Linked DNA regions of Homo sapiens: region 2 is linked to region 1. The links are contacts of gene promoters, found by promoter capture Hi-C in blood cells and fetal thymus (Javierre and others, 2016). All regions are on one chromosome and are shown on one strand. Each heading gives the region's core, a stretch centred on a gene start or on the middle of the fragment in contact. The rest is flanking DNA. Distances are from core to core; before and after follow the strand shown. Region 1 holds the start of APBB3 (amyloid beta precursor protein binding family B member 3). Region 2 holds the start of FAM13B (family with sequence similarity 13 member B).

Region 1 (7,671 bases), core at 2,994-5,493:
CAGGAGTGTCGGCTTAAGCCAGGGCCCAGGGGCTACATTCCCTGAGATGAGTCAAGCCCAGCCCTCTCTGGGGTTTCCAGAACAAAGGCTAGGTGTGGGGAGCAGCACTGTGGAGAGGGCAGGGAGCATGTCTCTAGGCATTGCTGGAACTGGAGGAGACTGTCAGAGTGGTTTGGGTAATGGTTGTATAATCTGTGGCAACTGGGCCTTCTTGCATGAAAGTGGAAGGGTGAGGATCCCTTATGGAAGAGTCATGCACCATGGCTGGGCTGGACTAGCCAGCTCCAGTGGCTCTGCTGGGTGACTAAAGTAGGCAAGGAAAGCCACTTGTTGCCCACACCCCACTTTCATCAACTCTGTTCATGCAGGACAAAGCAGGGAGCTGCCCAACAAGGATGGGGTTATTTCTCAGGCCTAGGTATTGATGTTACCTTAATTCTTTAGTCTGGAAGAACTTGGTTGGGGGTGGGGGATGGTAAGCATTTCCTTAACCAAACCCACACTTCACATCTCCTAGGGGTACCCCTTCATCCACCAACCTCCAGAGAATAACCTGGCTGCCCTCACTTCTCCAGCTTTTCTCACAAGGCACTTGTTACAGGGCTGCTGATGGGAGAGGGAGGAAGGCCTGGGAGGGGGATCTGGTGGTGGCGCCCAATCTACAGGGTCCGGAATCAGGGTGGAAGTTGTCAGGGACTAGCGGCTGCCATAGTACAGGCGCATGGCCAGGCCAATGAGCAATGTGGCCAGGAAGAAGGCGGCTGTGAGCTGCAGCCGTAGCAGGACTGCTGAGAGCACGGCGTTGACCACCAGCGAGCAGGACACCACAAAGAGGCGTGTGATGCTGCTGCCATGCTTCATGACAGCAGACATGAGCAGTCCATTTAGTGCCTGGCTCAGCACCACGAGTGCTGCCCATCCTGAGAAACCTTCCAGGAGGCCTGGGCCAGAGCCGCCGCCAGCATGCAGACCTAGATTCAGAAGCACACCAAAAGTGTAGAGGAAGAGGTTCTGAAGTGCCAGGGGCAGCCGCTGTCGCTTCATGAGCAGCTCTGTGTACACTGACGACAAGCCTGAGATGAGGCAGTACAGAATGAGGAGCAGCAGGCCTAGCGGAGTGATATGCAGGGGCATGGGGCTGGCAGCAGCTGCTGGAGGGGGACTGGGAAGGGTGTTCCCGGGAACTTGAAGGCCCCCTGCTGCATAGCAGGCTCCCGCAGCCATCAGCAGCAGCAGCGCTAACCCCTGACGCACAGAGAGGCGGTGCCGGAGGCAGAGGCAGTAGAGCACAGCTGTGCTTCCAATCTTGAGATTACTCAGCACCTGGTAGGTGCTGGGGTCCATGTAACGCTGAAGATAGATCACCAGGTTGTTGTTAGCGCCATAGAGCAGGGCTGATAGTGCGAAGGGAGCAGCCTGGCGCCAGGGTGGGGGCCCCTGGGGCCATGCTTGCCAGCCTACCAGAAGGGAGAAGGCGCATAACAGTAGCTTGGTCAGCTCAGTCAGCAGCACGGCTGAGGAGGGCCGGAAGGGCACTCGGCCGTCCACATGGCACAGTGCCAGCAATGGGGCATGGGCACCGTACATGGCAGTGGATAGGAGTAGCATCAGGGTCCAGCGGGCCTGCCTGGGACGGCCCAGGCCTGGCATACCCCCATCCTCTACACTCATACCCACACAAGACCCTGGGTGGCTAAGGGGCAGCAGGGATTGCAACACGTTTGGGGAAAATCAAGTTATGGAGCCAGCTCCCAGGAAGGAGAAGCCGTGGAACATTGCCAGAGAGAATACTGAGGATCAGAGGCATCTACCAACTCCACAGTCAGGGCTTGAAGAGTAAGGGGCTGGTGGTCCTTGAAGCCACAGTCTTGGGGCGAGTCCCATGGAGCTAGGAAGGGGAAGAAGGAATCCAGGGTGCAGGCTGAGGAACTACTGTCCACAATCTGCAGGAAGGGAGGCAAGGATGAAGGTGGCAGGAAAGTTGGAGATAGCAAATGGATGACAGCTGGGGAATCCAGATAAAGTGTCTCCACCTGAAGGCTGAGCTGCTCATCCTGCCTCTTCCATGGCACCTAGAGCTAGTCGGGCCCCTTGCGTAGCAACTGCAAATAGTCCCTTAATGTCTTCTCCACGTTGGGCACAGCATATGCCTGAGCCGCATAGATGCCAGTGCAGGTGCCCACAGCAAAGCCCAATACTGCTGATGCCCTCAGTTTGGCCACCACATAGCCAGCCAGGAATCCCTTGAGGAACGGGGAGGACAACAGCGAGCCATCCTGCAGAGAAAAATGCAGAAGGAAACTTAGCTAGGCTCCTTCCTGACTGTCCAGGGGCTACTCAAGCTGGGATTAGAGCATTCCACCACCAGCTCCTCCTCACCCTGGACAACCGTGGTATTTTCTCCAGATTTTTCCCAAGGTTCTGGGGCCAGAAAAAGAACCAAGCAGTTCTGATCACACAATCTCAGAACCCTGGGGTCAGAAAGCTCCAACCATAGAACTCCACCGCCACACAAGGTCAGAGATGCCCCTAGCCCTGCCGGTTTCTCCAGCCTCATTTCCTAGCATGCTCCCCAACTACTGTAGCCAAATGGACCTCCTTTCACCCCTCATGTTTATAATGCTACTTCCTACCACAAGGCCTTTACATATGCTGTTCTGCCTGGAATGTTCTTTCCTCCCCTCTTCACCTACTTAACCACTACTTAAGATATTAGTTCATGTGCCATTCAGAAAAATTGTCCTTAGGGTGACTGAGAATAGGCCCTCAATAATCACTTGCTGAAGAAATCTCTACCATCCATTTAACACTCTCAAGAGCATGTTGGGCAATAAAGCCTAAGGCAGGGGTGGGGTGGGACAGTCCTTACCTGGCCCACTCCACTGTTGACTTCGTCTTCTACACGCCGCTGCAGGCTTTCCAGCTGGTTCTTGAGAAATGCCAGGTCCTTAAGCTTAGGCAGAGAATCCTAGGACAAGCGAGAGGCTGGCTCCAGCAGTCTGACTAAGCCCCACCCCTTGCTCAATTCCATCAGAAGCTGGGAATTGGGAGGGGATGGGGTGAGCCAGAAAGACCTTTTCCTATAAAAGCTTCCTGAGATGGCAGTGGCAAAGAAAGACAAGCATTGAAAAGCACAGAATTCAAATGAGGGCCAGGAAGGGACTGACAGATGGGATCTGAACCAGTAACTTACATCAACCTTGACAAGAATTTTATATAGCAAGCAGTATGTAGGAAAGGCAGGAGGGACAGCTAGGGACCTTTAATTAGGTCCATCAGGAAACCACTACTGACTCCATTATGAGCTCCTTGAAAGTCGTGACCAGTCTGTCTTGGCTACTATGTTCTAGTGCCTGACATTTAGTAAATGTGTGGGTAATGCTGAGCTTCTAGACCAATGGTGAGTAATGGACCGAGGCAGTTTCCTGGACAATTTTATTGTCTTGGTTCCTGGATGGGCTTTACCTCTTTCTTCCCAAGGACATCCCAAACTGAATGTGAGTGACTGGATGTGACTGAGAATGACAAAAAAGACTGTCGGCAAGTGTGTAAGTAAATGGACTGAGTGATTTTGATCGCATATAAGTATGAAATTCAGAATGTATGCAAAGGAGTGTTTGAATGAGGGTGGTGTGAGTGTCCGTGTGATTGGAAACATCGTGTCACTGGGAAGAAAATTTCGGGAGCTAGGGAATGGGGTAAAGTGAGGAGTGTTTAAGGGTGAATGTTTTTGAGTCTGTGCTAGTAACGGGTTCGTGATGGTTCCCAGGAGGGGACATCTGGGGGATCCACGGCTCCTCCCGCCTCGCCGAATGCTCTCCCCACACCACTCCACACTGTTGAGGCAGTTGACAGGAGCCGCAGAAGAAACAAGGGACATCCTCACTCCTGAGCCGCTCCAGAGTCGCTTCTCCCCGGAACTAAAAAGGTCAAGGAGAGTGAAGACCACGCCCGGCTGCAGATCACCCCCACGGCCACTCACCTTGTCATCCGCCATCTTCCCCGCCGAACTTGTTGCGCAGGCGCATCCCCGCCTCCCTCGTGCCGACTGCCCCGGCCATCTTTACGGAGGGCGAAGGCACTTCCGGAGCATTTTTGGAAAGGGGGAGGTGCTTTCCTAGTGGCCAAGTACGCCTCTCTCAGATACTTCCACGTGACCCCCTCCCGTCGAGTCTCAGGCTGCGTGTGAGCGCACTCACGACCGGGGCGCGATGATCTCACTCGTGCGCGAGTGCGCGCGGCGCATGTTCGGCGTGTCGGTCTTCAGGCGCCTGATGAGTTCATAGTTGGGCGGTGGTGTCAGCGGTTTCGCTGGCGTTCGTGGGCCTCCCCCGGACCCACACACGGAAACACGCAACCATTCGGGGATCCAGACGCCCGTTTACACGCACCACCCCTGGGCGGGCTGTGCGGCTCAGGCCCTCCCCCGGGACCGGCCCGTGTCCCGCCCCGTGTCCCGCCCCGTATTTGTGCGGCGCCAGCTGGCCCCGCAGCCTGCGGCGCAGAGAGGCTGGGCTTGCAGGCGCAGTAGCTCCAGAGGTCGCGCTGGGCTGAGAGTGCGGGCCGGCAGAGGCTGGCGGGGAGCAGCCGGGGTTATGCTGGGCAAGGATTACATGCTGGCCATCATTCTGGTCAACTGCGATGGTGTGCACGGAGGGGCCCGGTGGGAAGACCAGGAGCTGAGGGAGGACGAGGGAATCCGAAAGGCTACTCTGGGGCTCAAAGACGGTGGGGGATACCTCTCTGTGTAGGGACCAGGGGGCGAATGAACCCGGTCTTTACATGTGATGTCTTCAAGATTGAGGAGCCTGGATCTTCAGCCTAAGAACTGACCCATTTTGGGGATGGAGAGGGGATTATGACAGCATGTTATTCTGAACTCACAAATCATATGCTCCCTCCTCTCTAATCCGGTGTTCCTGTAGATGACTTGTGGGGGGACCACAGTCTGGAGGTGGAGGCTGGCCTGCCTCCTGGCTGGAGGAAGATCCACGATGCTGCAGGTACTTACTACTGGCATGTACCCAGCGGTAGCACCCAGTGGCAGCGCCCAACCTGGGAACTAGGAGATGCAGAGGACCCAGGCACGGTAGGTAGAGTGTGAGGAGGAGGTCTGAGCCCATGTGTGGACCTAGGTCTGCTGTTAAACTGACTAACTCCCACTCTACAGGGAACGGAGGGGATCTGGGGACTGCGGCCCCCCAAAGGGAGATCCTTCTCCAGCCTGGAGAGTTCACTGGACCGGAGGTAACGGGTGGCCCAGGCAAAATGAAAGGCTTGGGGTTCCATGGTGTTCAAAAATGCAGCTGGACCCATGGTCTGCTTTCCAGCCCAGGTTCTGGATTCTGTCACATGTTTTGGGTTCTGTTACGTTCTTGGCTCTGTCCCAGGTTCTTAACTGTCAGTATTTTGAGTTTTATCCCTTGTTCTAAGCTCTTGTTTGTAGCTACATGTTTTTCATATTCTTGGTCCTAACCTATCATGTTCTAGACCTTGGCCATTAAGTCCTCTGTTCTAGGGTCTCTTGTCCCACTTTGGGGTTCTGGTCCACATATTGGACCCTGTTCTATTTTGTGACTTTTATTTTTTATTTTTTGAGATGGAGTCTCACTCTGTCATCCAGGCTGGAGTGCAGTGGCACGATCTTGGCTCACTGCAACCTCCGCCTCCCAGGTTCAAGTCATTCTCCTGCCTCAGCCTCCTGAGTAGCTGAAACTACAGGCACATGCCACCATGCCCAGCTAATGTTTGTATTTTTAGTAGATATGGGGTTTCACCATGTTGGCCAGGATGGTCTCGATATCCTGACCTCATGATCCACCCGTCTCAGCCTCCCAAAGTGTTGGGATTACAGGCGTGAGCCACCACTGCACCTAGCCTTGTGACTTTTATTCTATGTCCTGTGTCTGGGTCCTATGTCCTGAATTTTCCCTCAAATTCTGAGTCACACTTTATGTTACGTTAATATGTCCTGGGCTCTACCCTGCTCTGGTTTTATATTTCTGGTGCTATATTCTGGGTCTTGCCCCTCATCCTGTGCTTATCAAGTTGTCTAGGCCTCACCAGTGTCCCTACTGTAGGAAATGTGGTCCTCTTAACAGCTCTGCTCTGTTTCAGTAACTCTCTGTCCTGGTATGGTGGGGAATCCTACATCCAGAGCATGGAGCCAGGGGCTAAGGTAGTGACTTGGGCCTGAGGGCATTGGGAGGTCCCAAGGGAAAGACAAGGGTGGGATTGGACTGAACAGAGGTGATCAAGGGTGAAGACAGGGAGTATGTATTGTGGCACCTGCCACCCTACTCCATCCTTATTAATTCCTGTCCCTTCCCCCAACCTGTCAGTGCTTTGCAGTCCGCTCTCTGGGCTGGGTAGAGGTACCTGAAGAGGACCTGGCACCGGGGAAGAGCAGTATTGCAGTCAATAACTGTATCCAGCAGCTGGCCCAGACCCGCAGCCGGAGCCAGCCTCCAGATGGTGCCTGGGGTGAGGTGAGTTGGCTGGGCCCTTTAATGGTTTGGGCCCAGGGCCCAGCAGAGGTAGCTGTCCCTGAATTTCCTATTTCTCATGGCAATGACCTTTATCTGAGCTCTGGGCTGACCTCTGTCCTTGGCAGGGCCAGAACATGCTGATGATCCTGAAGAAGGATGCCATGAGCCTAGTGAATCCCCTGGACCACAGTCTGATCCACTGCCAGCCTCTGGTGCACATCCGTGTGTGGGGCGTGGGGAGCTCCAAGGGCCGGTGAGGATGCCTACATCCCCCAAGCAAGAGCTACTTCTCCCTCCCGGCTGCAGGCTGTGATCCCCACTGATGCTGATCCCCAGTACTTGAACCCCTGGACACAGATCCTCTGATGTGGACCCAGGACTGCTTCCCCTGCCTGGTCCAGCCCTGGTTGGGGAGGGTGGGCCCAGCTCAGCAGGGACAGTTTGGGGAGAGTCCGAGAGGCTGGGCTGATTCCCTTCTGTGCTCCCACATGCTTCCGGAACAGTGACAGGTGAGTGAAAACCAGGTATCCTGAGCCCCATCCCTGATGTCCCTACTCCATCCCTGCTATATCCCTAGCCTGACTTTCCAGCCTCCTGCAGGCTCCTGCCTCTAACCAGCTTCTACCCCAGCCCCATCTCTGCCCCTGCTAGGGACTTCGCTTTTGTGGCAAGTGACAAAGATAGCTGTATGCTCAAGTGCCATGTGTTTTGCTGTGATGTCCCTGCCAAGGCCATTGCCAGTGCCCTACATGGGCTTTGTGCCCAGGTAAGTGTCAGGGGTGGGGCAGGGAATGTGGGTAAGGGGTTGGGTCTGAAGCTTCCAAGGTAGTTGGGGTGGTATTGGCCCTTTTACCCTAATTCCCCTCTCTCCCTGTGGGTCATGCTGGCTTCATTGTGTTTTAGATCTTGTCAGAGCGAGTAGAGGTCAGTGGTGATGCCTCTTGCTGCTCCCCAGACCCCATCTCTCCTGAAGACCTGCCACGGCAAGGTATGGGGAGGGGAGACCTGCATTGCTGCATTGGGGTGCTTTGGTGCTGCTTTGTGGGGGGGCGATTTCTGGTTATTTAATACTTCTGTGGATAAATTTCTGAGATGTCTGGTCTCAGGGATCCCAAGCCACTAGTTGGAGGAGCATCTATGAGCCATTTCTTCTACCAGCACCAGCTCTGACCTGAGTCCTGGC
Region 2 (7,671 bases), core at 2,237-4,736, 2.5 Mb after region 1:
GGTGACCTTGGGGAGGCAGATATGCTGAGGTCCTCCCTGGCATCTAGAATGCAGTCCAGGTTGTAGCAAAGATATATTCCTTCCACAGTGATGTGACTCATGACCTTACTTCTGAGAGGCATAATGCCTCTGTTCAGATAAGCTGGGATAGAATGCTTGTTTTCCAGGCTTAAAAGTCATCTTGCAAATAAATAACAATTTTATCTCAAGTAGTAATTTTCCTGGCATGGCCTCATCTCCAGAAGGAGTCTTGGAAACACAAAGGATTGGTCTATACCAGTCACTTCTCATCCTGGCCAAATAGCTATTGCAAATGCTATTTTTGACTCTATTGATATATTGAAATGTGACGTTTCCATCTACAGGTAAAGAATTTGTAGGAAAAAAAGAAGAAAAAGTGATGTAATTTTGAAGTATTCTTTTAGTGAGGTATTCTCTCATCTCTGTAACAAACAGAATTGCTGTTCTTTGCTGTAGGGGCTGTCCTGTGCCGTAAAGGATGTTTACCAGCATCCTTGACCTTCTCCCACCAGCCAATAGCACCTCTCCAGTGGTGACAATCAAAAATGTCTGTATTCAGCAGATCCTGAATTCAGAAGGAAAAAAAAAGTTTAAAAAAAAACCAAAAATGTCTGCACACATGGTCCCCCAAAATTGTCGCAGTTGAGAACCACTGTTTTAACTGAAGCAACAAGATTATTATAAAAGAAACCATCTTCTTCCCTCCATCCACCAAAAAACTAAAGTAATTTCTGAGATAGACCCCCTCTAGAAATTTCAGAGGATTTAGACAAAGCAGGTAGATTAAATACTCAGTTATTTAGTTATAAAAGGCCAAACCAGAATTATTGAGGACAATGTCTTTGGAGACTGTTGCTGGTGAGCTGTGATTCTTACCACAGGTGCCTGCCTGCCTTTTACTTCAAGTCGAGGGAGTGGGCCTTCAATGGATCTGCTCAGAGCACTTGACTTGTACCTCCTGCAGTCTGAGGGGCACCGTGGGCCTGTGTCTGACTCCCACAGGCTGGCGGCTGTTTTGGCAGCAGAGTAGAGGAATGTTGAATCTGCACTGGGATTAGCCTGTACTCCCAAGTTTGTTCGGGCAAGAGGTGCCTGAGAGCTTCCTGTGGACCAGGTGTGGGCCATACAGAGCTGTCACTAGGCTAACACAGCAGCACCATGAGAAAAAAGCTCTCCTTCGTCCAGACGCTTTGCTTCCATCTATTGGGAAGCAGTCGTTGTAATTTAGTTTGGACAAAACACTTTACTGCCACCTGCTGGAAAAACATTAAAATAAATAACATACAGAACTACAGTGAGAATGATGTGAATGGCACCCCCTAGGGTACGGAGTGCACAACCTTGTCCCACAATAAAGGGTCACTTGCAAATGGACGAGTGTGAGAGTCATCTCAGATCCTATCTGACAGGGCCTTTACAGAGATGCCCAGGTTTCAACAGACAAGTAGTTGGAGGTGCGTGGAAAGAAGTAAATAACTGCCAAAATAGCTTTACGCTTAGACCAATAGAATTATGGGGGAGAAACCACCAGAGAAGGGGGATGGTGGTAGTCTCTGAGGTATCCATGAAAAAATAAGTCAGCTTTAAGCATCTACCATGCCCAGGGAATGTCAAACCATCATACAAAGTTAACAACTTTCCTGCTCCTTTTTCTCCCTGCCTTCCCCAGATTTGGTTATGATTAGTTAAGCCGGGAGGAGAAAGACTAGGCAGGTTAAAGATGACTATGGTCCCCTCTTTAGGGCAAGCAATGAGACAACTGTTCCCAGCTGAAAAAGAGGAAAACATTTCACTCTTTGTGACTCAATGACAACAGGACTCTATTCCTAAGGAGACCACAGAACCCCTAAAAACTCATGGAACCTGCCTGAGTTTTCAATTAGGTACATGACAGATCTACTCCCACTGCACAAATTGAAAGGCATGGCAAAAGATACAAAATAAAAGTGTTTGTTTTGAATTATAGCCCATGTGGCCCCTATGTTGAACATACTGTTTTTATATTATCAAGTAGGATCTAGAGAATATATCTTCCAAGAATATGTTCTGCAGTTTTTGAGGGGGAAAATGGTCATTGATCAATTCATTTGTTTTTTGAGATCCCATACTTTGTGGGTAGGGTATAAAAACGCAAGGGAGGCCGGGCACGGTGGCTCACGCCTGTAATCACAGCACTTTGGGAGGCTGAGGTGGGAGGATCACTTGAGGCCAGGAGTTCAAGAGAGGCCTGGGCAACATAGGGAAACCCATCTCTAAAAAAATTTTAAAATTAGCCAGGCATGGTGGCATGTCCCTGTAGTCCCAGCTACTCAGGAGACTAGGGTAGGAATGCTGCTGGAGGCCAGGAAGTTGAGGCTGTATTGAGCCATAATCCAGACACTGGACCCCAGCCTGAGTGACAGAGCAAGACCTTGTCTCACCAAAAAAAAAAAAAAAAAAAAAAAAAAAAAAAAGGCAAGGGAATCCTTCCCTCTGGGAGCTTACATCTTAGGTTTCATATTCAGAGCAAAGTATTTATTACAGTCAGTTATGTCAACAAGAGCCTGTGTTGCATATGTGGGGCAGGCGGAGGAGGTTTTTAACTCTCTTCGGATTTACTCTCAAGACTTTTACGCACTTATGATAAAGCTTTTGAAGCAATCATATTGCTCCTGTTCTCCAAGCATGGAATCACAGGTAAAGCTTTCATTTAAGATATTTAAAGAGAGATACAAGGCTAAATGCACAGACTGCATCTTCACTGGGCTGCTCTGAAATCAGGCTCTGTTGATCCTGTTTGGCAGATTTGGAAACTTTTATTTCACTTCGCTCAAGTTTAAATAGGCTCTGAGAAATTAATTCGGATAAAACAATTCAACCCAGTGAACAGTGTCCGATTTGTAAACCATGATATGAATTTATTGACAAAAACTGTACAGCTAGTATAACTAGTCCTAGTTATATGCCTTGGACAATCCCTTCTTATTGGGTATGTAGATTTATTTGAGAGACTCCCTGAATGATGGAAAGGCTACTAGCTGAGTTTGGAATCAGAGTATGGGCCTTTGTATGCTCTTAACGGAGATCCAGAATTTAGGTTTGCTAGGATATAAACTCCACGAAGGCAGGGATTTACTGACGTATCTTAAGAGACTAGAACATAGTAAGCATTCACTAAGTATCTGTTGAATGAGTGAGTGAATCTGAATTAAGATTTAACTGCCCTGAGAGTAAGTGTTGGTTCTGGTCATTAGAATCAGTTGCCTCGTTCCTGGACAGAGTTCCTGGGAGCCTCATAGAACATTCTTATTCAGATTCTTCTGGTTTTAGACTCTTTGTGGACCCCACCCTTCGGTTATGACAGCATTAACTGGGTATGTGACACTTAGGTTACACATGGTTTACTCTCTCTGATGAAATGTGGGAGACACTGTGGCCTCTGTAGCCCATTTACAGATCATTTCATAGGGTAACTTTATTTTTTTCAAATCTTGTCCCAAGTTCTATGAGGGTTCTTGTTTTACATTTTCCAAGTTACTAACTTCCAGCTCAGGTAGGTAAGGGACAACTGAATTGTGGTGGCTGCTATTTTTTGTGCAGGTGTTGATCTACCGGCTGTCAAGGAGTCCAAATGGAAGATCTCAAAGCCCTTAACAGACTATAACAAAGAAGAGATTGGCTGAATATTCATACCCTTGTGAGTTCAAGGGAGTTGTAGGGATGGTCTGGGTAGCCATGCAAGTTCAGAGAGCTCATTCTTTCTGCCTCCTTTCAGCTCTGCCTCCGCAGCTGGCTGATTTTAGTATACGAAGCTCCCTGTAAGCCCGCAGCCTATCGACTTCCACAGTCCCAGACTAAGGCACCGAAGCCTTACTGTTCTCTCTGGAGTCTAGGTCAGGTCCTGAGGTGAAGGGGTAGGGTGGGGGCGGGCAGGACGCAGGTGCAGCCCCGTGGTCCCGGATCTAACTCACATCTCTGGGAATGGGAACCGAAGTCACCGCTTAGGTCTCCCCCAGCGGTTTTCGGTTCAGGTCTCTGTGCTCCTCACCTGGATATGGGCGCCCTGGGGGCCTGGCTTCCTCCGCAGAGACCAGAAGCGATCTCTGTGTTCCGGATTTTCCCTTTATCTTTCCTCTCCCCAGTGTCCTCTCTGTTTCCCAACCTCCCCATACCGAGGACCCCACAACCCGCCCCGGGATGGCGCCTGGCTGCTCGCACCCTAATTCAGGACCCCAATTGGTGGGAGAGGAACCGCGGTCCTCAAGCTTGCAGGACACAGGGCCGCTGCCCGGAATGCTGTGGGGGTGGGGACCCTCGCCGCCCCGCCCCCACCAGCGGCCTGCCCCGCCCCCTCCCACGCACGTCACGTCCGGCCCGGCCTCCGCCCGCCAGCCGCTCTCCTCCCGCTCGCCGTTAGGGAGGCTCTGCACCTCAGCCGCCGCCTCTGTCGCCACTCTCTCCCCCTGTTCCGCGTCTGCGTCGCCACCACCGCCGGGGGTATCCGGGGGGTCGCTTACCGGGCTGGCCCCGCGCCACAGCCGTAGCTTTAACCTCCCGTCAGCGGCCGCCCCAGGAAGAGGCTTCTCGGCCGCGGAGCCACTTGGGGCCTCAGTTCTCGCCCTCTTGCCGTCGCCGCGGGTCCTGGAGAAGCGGCCGCGGCCAGGGAACGGGGCATCGCGGTTCCAACGGTAGGTAAACGGGCGGGTACCCGGATCTGCGCATGCGCGGGTTGCAGGTCGCCGCGGCCCTTCCCCTCCTGTTGCCCCCCAGCGCCGCCTGCCACCCGCGCCTGCTCTCGGGCGTTGCGTTTCGGGATGTGGAGGACTCTAGCAGGTGGGGCGTTCCGTGGAGAGGGCCCCCTTTCCGCTGGAGAAAGAGGAAGATGAAGCCGTGTCCCTGGCTGCCGGGGGGTGTGGCAGCCTTGGATTTGCAGCGGCTGCAGTGCAGTTGAGCGGGCGTGCCCCTCACCTCCAGCCCCTCCAGAGTAGATGGCGCGACACCCCACGTTTCTTTGCTGACCTCTCCTGCCCGCTGGCGCTGCGCCTCTTCCCCGCCCACTTCCTTCATGCTGGGCAGTGAAGTTGATGTAGAAGAAAAAGGAGTGTGTTTTATTCTGGGCTCAACTGCGCCCCTTTTTAAGGTCACGTGAGATGAGTGGTTGCGGACTTCCTTAAATCGCTCAGAGAATATAGCCAAAATTGGGCTGTTGGTGCACTGGGGCCTTGTCTAGAATGCGCTCTGCATAGGCCAGGCTGGAGGGGGACACTTTGTATAGCATTAGGGTTCGCGTGGCACGCCTGGTTTCCTAGATGAGGTTGTAGGAATCGGTTGGCACATTTGCGCAGTGGGAAACTGTTAAGCCCTTTTTGTTTGTAATCAGTTAAAATCAAACTGACTTTTAGAAAGACGGTGGATTATTTCATTTGGTTCCCCGTTTCGCCTTCTAATCAGTGAAAAAAGTTGGGCATTTACTTTGAAGGATCTGATAATCTAAAATGGTAGCCAGAATCATTACCAGTAGTAATGCAGACTATTAACATTAACTGGGGTGCACCTGTTTAGAGAGACAGACATTAAAGGGTGGTTTTGAATTATTTGTCTTTTTAGAGCTGGGTTAGTGTGAGGCTATTTTCAACCTTCCTTTTTTGGTAACCTTGAAATGCTTGTTGGCCTGGTTTTCTCACAGGTACTGTGCATTTACTAAGTGCTTGTTGATGGAATTGAATGGACTGATAATTATTTGTATATCCATTGGGAGCGCCTTCTTACTTTTTTTTTTTTTTCCTTGAGACAGTTTCGCTCTGTCGTACAGGCTGGAGTGCAGTGGAGCGATCTCGGTTCACTGCAACCTCCTCCTCCCGGATTCAAGCGATTCTCCTGCCTCAGCCTCCTGAGTAGCTGGGACTACAGGCGCCCGCCACCACGCCTGACTAATTTTTGTATTTTTGGTAGAGATCAGATTTCACTAAGTTGGCCAGGCTGGTCTTGAACTGACCTCAAGTGATCCGCCTGCCTCAGCCTCCCAGAGTTCTGGGATTACAGGCGTGAGTCACCGTGCCTTGCCCCCTTCTTACTTTTTTAATCCGTGCTGCTTTTAAAATTGGAGTAATAGTTTCTCCAGTTTAATTTTATTACTAATTTAGACACGTGTGTGACACAGCTTAAGTTCTTGGAAAATGTAGAAGGGCATATTGCAGTGGCATAATTCATTGGGTGGTGTAAATGTTAGTTTTTTTTATTAGAATGTCATTGTTTTAGGAGAGAAAATGGCTGAAATGAATCTGTTGACTTGTCAGTGTTTCCCCACCAATAAAATAACTGCTTTTATAATCAGTTATGAATAACCTCAATCCATCGCTGCATAGCTCCTCCATCATCGTATTCAAATTTTAAATTTGGGGACTATAATAGTGTAAATTACTGTTTTGTTTTTTTTTTTGAGACAGGGCATCACTGTCGCCCAGGCTGGAGTGCAGTGGTGCAATCTCGGCTGACTGCAACCTCTGCCTCCCAGGTTCTAACGATTCTTCTGACTTAGCCTCCCGAGTAGCTAGGACTACCGGTGCTTGCCACTGCGCCTGACTAATTTTTGTATTTTTTGTAAGACGGGGTTTTGCCATGTTGCCCAGGCTGGTCTCAAACTCCTGACCTCAGATGATCTGCCTGCTTCTGCCTCCCAAAGTGCTGGGATTACAGGTGTGAGCCACCTTGCCACCTTGCCCAGCCTTACGTTCAATTTTTTTTTTTGGGGGGGGGGGACGGAGTTTCATTCTTGTTGCCCAGGCTGAAGTGCAAATTTTAGTGTGTAAATTATACCTTAATAAATGTATTTTTTTAAAAACCCACTGGTGGACTTTGGAGAGCTTATACTCTGTTGGTAGAAACAGACATTAAACAAACACAAAATGAATATGTAATAAAACTTGTGGTAAGCCAGGCTCACGCCTGTAATCCCAGCACTTTGGGAGGCTAAGGCTGGAGGATCAGTTGAGCTTAGGAGTTTGAGGCCAGCCTGGGCAACATAGGGAGACTCTCTTTACAGAAAAAAAAAAAAAAAAAGCCAGGCATGGTGGCATGCTCCTGTTGTCCCAGCTGCTCAGGGAGCTGAGGTGGGAGGATTGCTTGAGCCCAGGAGTTTGAGGCTGCAGTGAGCTGTGATGATGCCATTGCATTCCAGCCTGGGGGACAGAGTGAGACCCTGTCTCAAAAAACAAAACAAGAAACCTGTGATGAATATTTTGGAGCCAAGGAACGCCACACCCTAGATAAATTAATAAATGAGACCATTAGTTTGAGTGGGTTGAAGAAAGCCTCTCCAAGGATGGGACTTGAACTGATGATAGGAAGGAGGAAGCGTGGGAGAGTGTTCCAGGTCAGTGAACTAGCAAGTATAAAAGACCTAGGCTGAGGAAAATGTGGTAAGCTGACAAGATAATTTGATGACATTTACTAGATTTCTACTAGAGAAGGAAATATTGCAAGTCTTTTATTTCAAGTTATTACCTAGCTTCTAGTGTATATTTTCTTTTCCTTGTATATATAATGTATAAAGATTCTTATCTCTTGCTTTAATTTTAAGAGCGATGTCTGTCAAGTTTCTATTATTGCCCTTTTCAGGAACAGAATAGAAAAAGTTCAGTTTTGTTTACCTATTCTTGAAAATATTTCTCT

Evidence for each region. The method cuts DNA at HindIII sites, captures the fragments that hold promoters and counts their contacts. A CHiCAGO score of 5 or more calls a contact.
Region 2: a fragment that was not itself captured here is called in contact with the fragment with the promoter of APBB3 in region 1 in 1 of 17 cell types (non-activated CD4 T cells); the score reaches 5.4 in non-activated CD4 T cells.

Annotation. Positions count from the first base shown.
Region 1 is chr5:140,561,170-140,568,840 of GRCh38, reverse strand. APBB3 (amyloid beta precursor protein binding family B member 3) reads left to right here and starts at 4,243. Exons shown (of 13, transcript NM_133173.3): 1 at 4,243-4,644; 2 at 4,926-5,089; 3 at 5,171-5,247; 4 at 6,118-6,178; 5 at 6,342-6,488; 6 at 6,614-6,741; 7 at 6,992-6,997; 8 at 7,140-7,254; 9 at 7,392-7,476. The coding sequence starts at 4,596. It overlaps SLC35A4 (solute carrier family 35 member A4), which reads right to left and starts at 4,013. Exons shown (of 3, transcript NM_080670.4): 1 at 3,983-4,013; 2 at 2,870-2,968; 3 at 1-2,276. The coding sequence starts at 1,671. The coding sequence ends at 697. LOC131768270 (SLC35A4 upstream open reading frame protein) reads right to left here and starts at 4,013. Exons shown (of 3, transcript NM_001394034.2): 1 at 3,983-4,013; 2 at 2,870-2,968; 3 at 1-2,276. The coding sequence starts at 3,997. The coding sequence ends at 2,079. MIR6831 (microRNA 6831) reads left to right here and starts at 5,090; the gene lies at 5,090-5,170. RefSeq lists enhancers at 3,936-4,055, 3,811-4,417, 5,026-5,085 and a silencer at 4,376-4,555. The HindIII fragment of the contact is 4,216 bases long and covers 3,092-7,307 here.
Region 2 is chr5:138,029,799-138,037,469 of GRCh38, reverse strand. FAM13B (family with sequence similarity 13 member B) reads left to right here and starts at 4,391. Exons shown (of 24, transcript NM_001385994.1): 1 at 4,391-4,688. FAM13B-AS1 (FAM13B antisense RNA 1) reads right to left here and starts at 4,696. Exons shown (of 2, transcript NR_037900.2): 1 at 4,518-4,696; 2 at 1-1,277. It overlaps LOC124901077 (a long non-coding RNA gene), which reads right to left and starts at 4,331. Exons shown (of 2, transcript XR_007058952.1): 1 at 4,219-4,331; 2 at 2,797-3,975. RefSeq lists enhancers at 1,002-1,211, 4,319-5,202, 5,303-5,362, 6,577-7,078 and silencers at 4,683-4,732, 4,743-4,812. The HindIII fragment of the contact is 1,562 bases long and covers 2,706-4,267 here.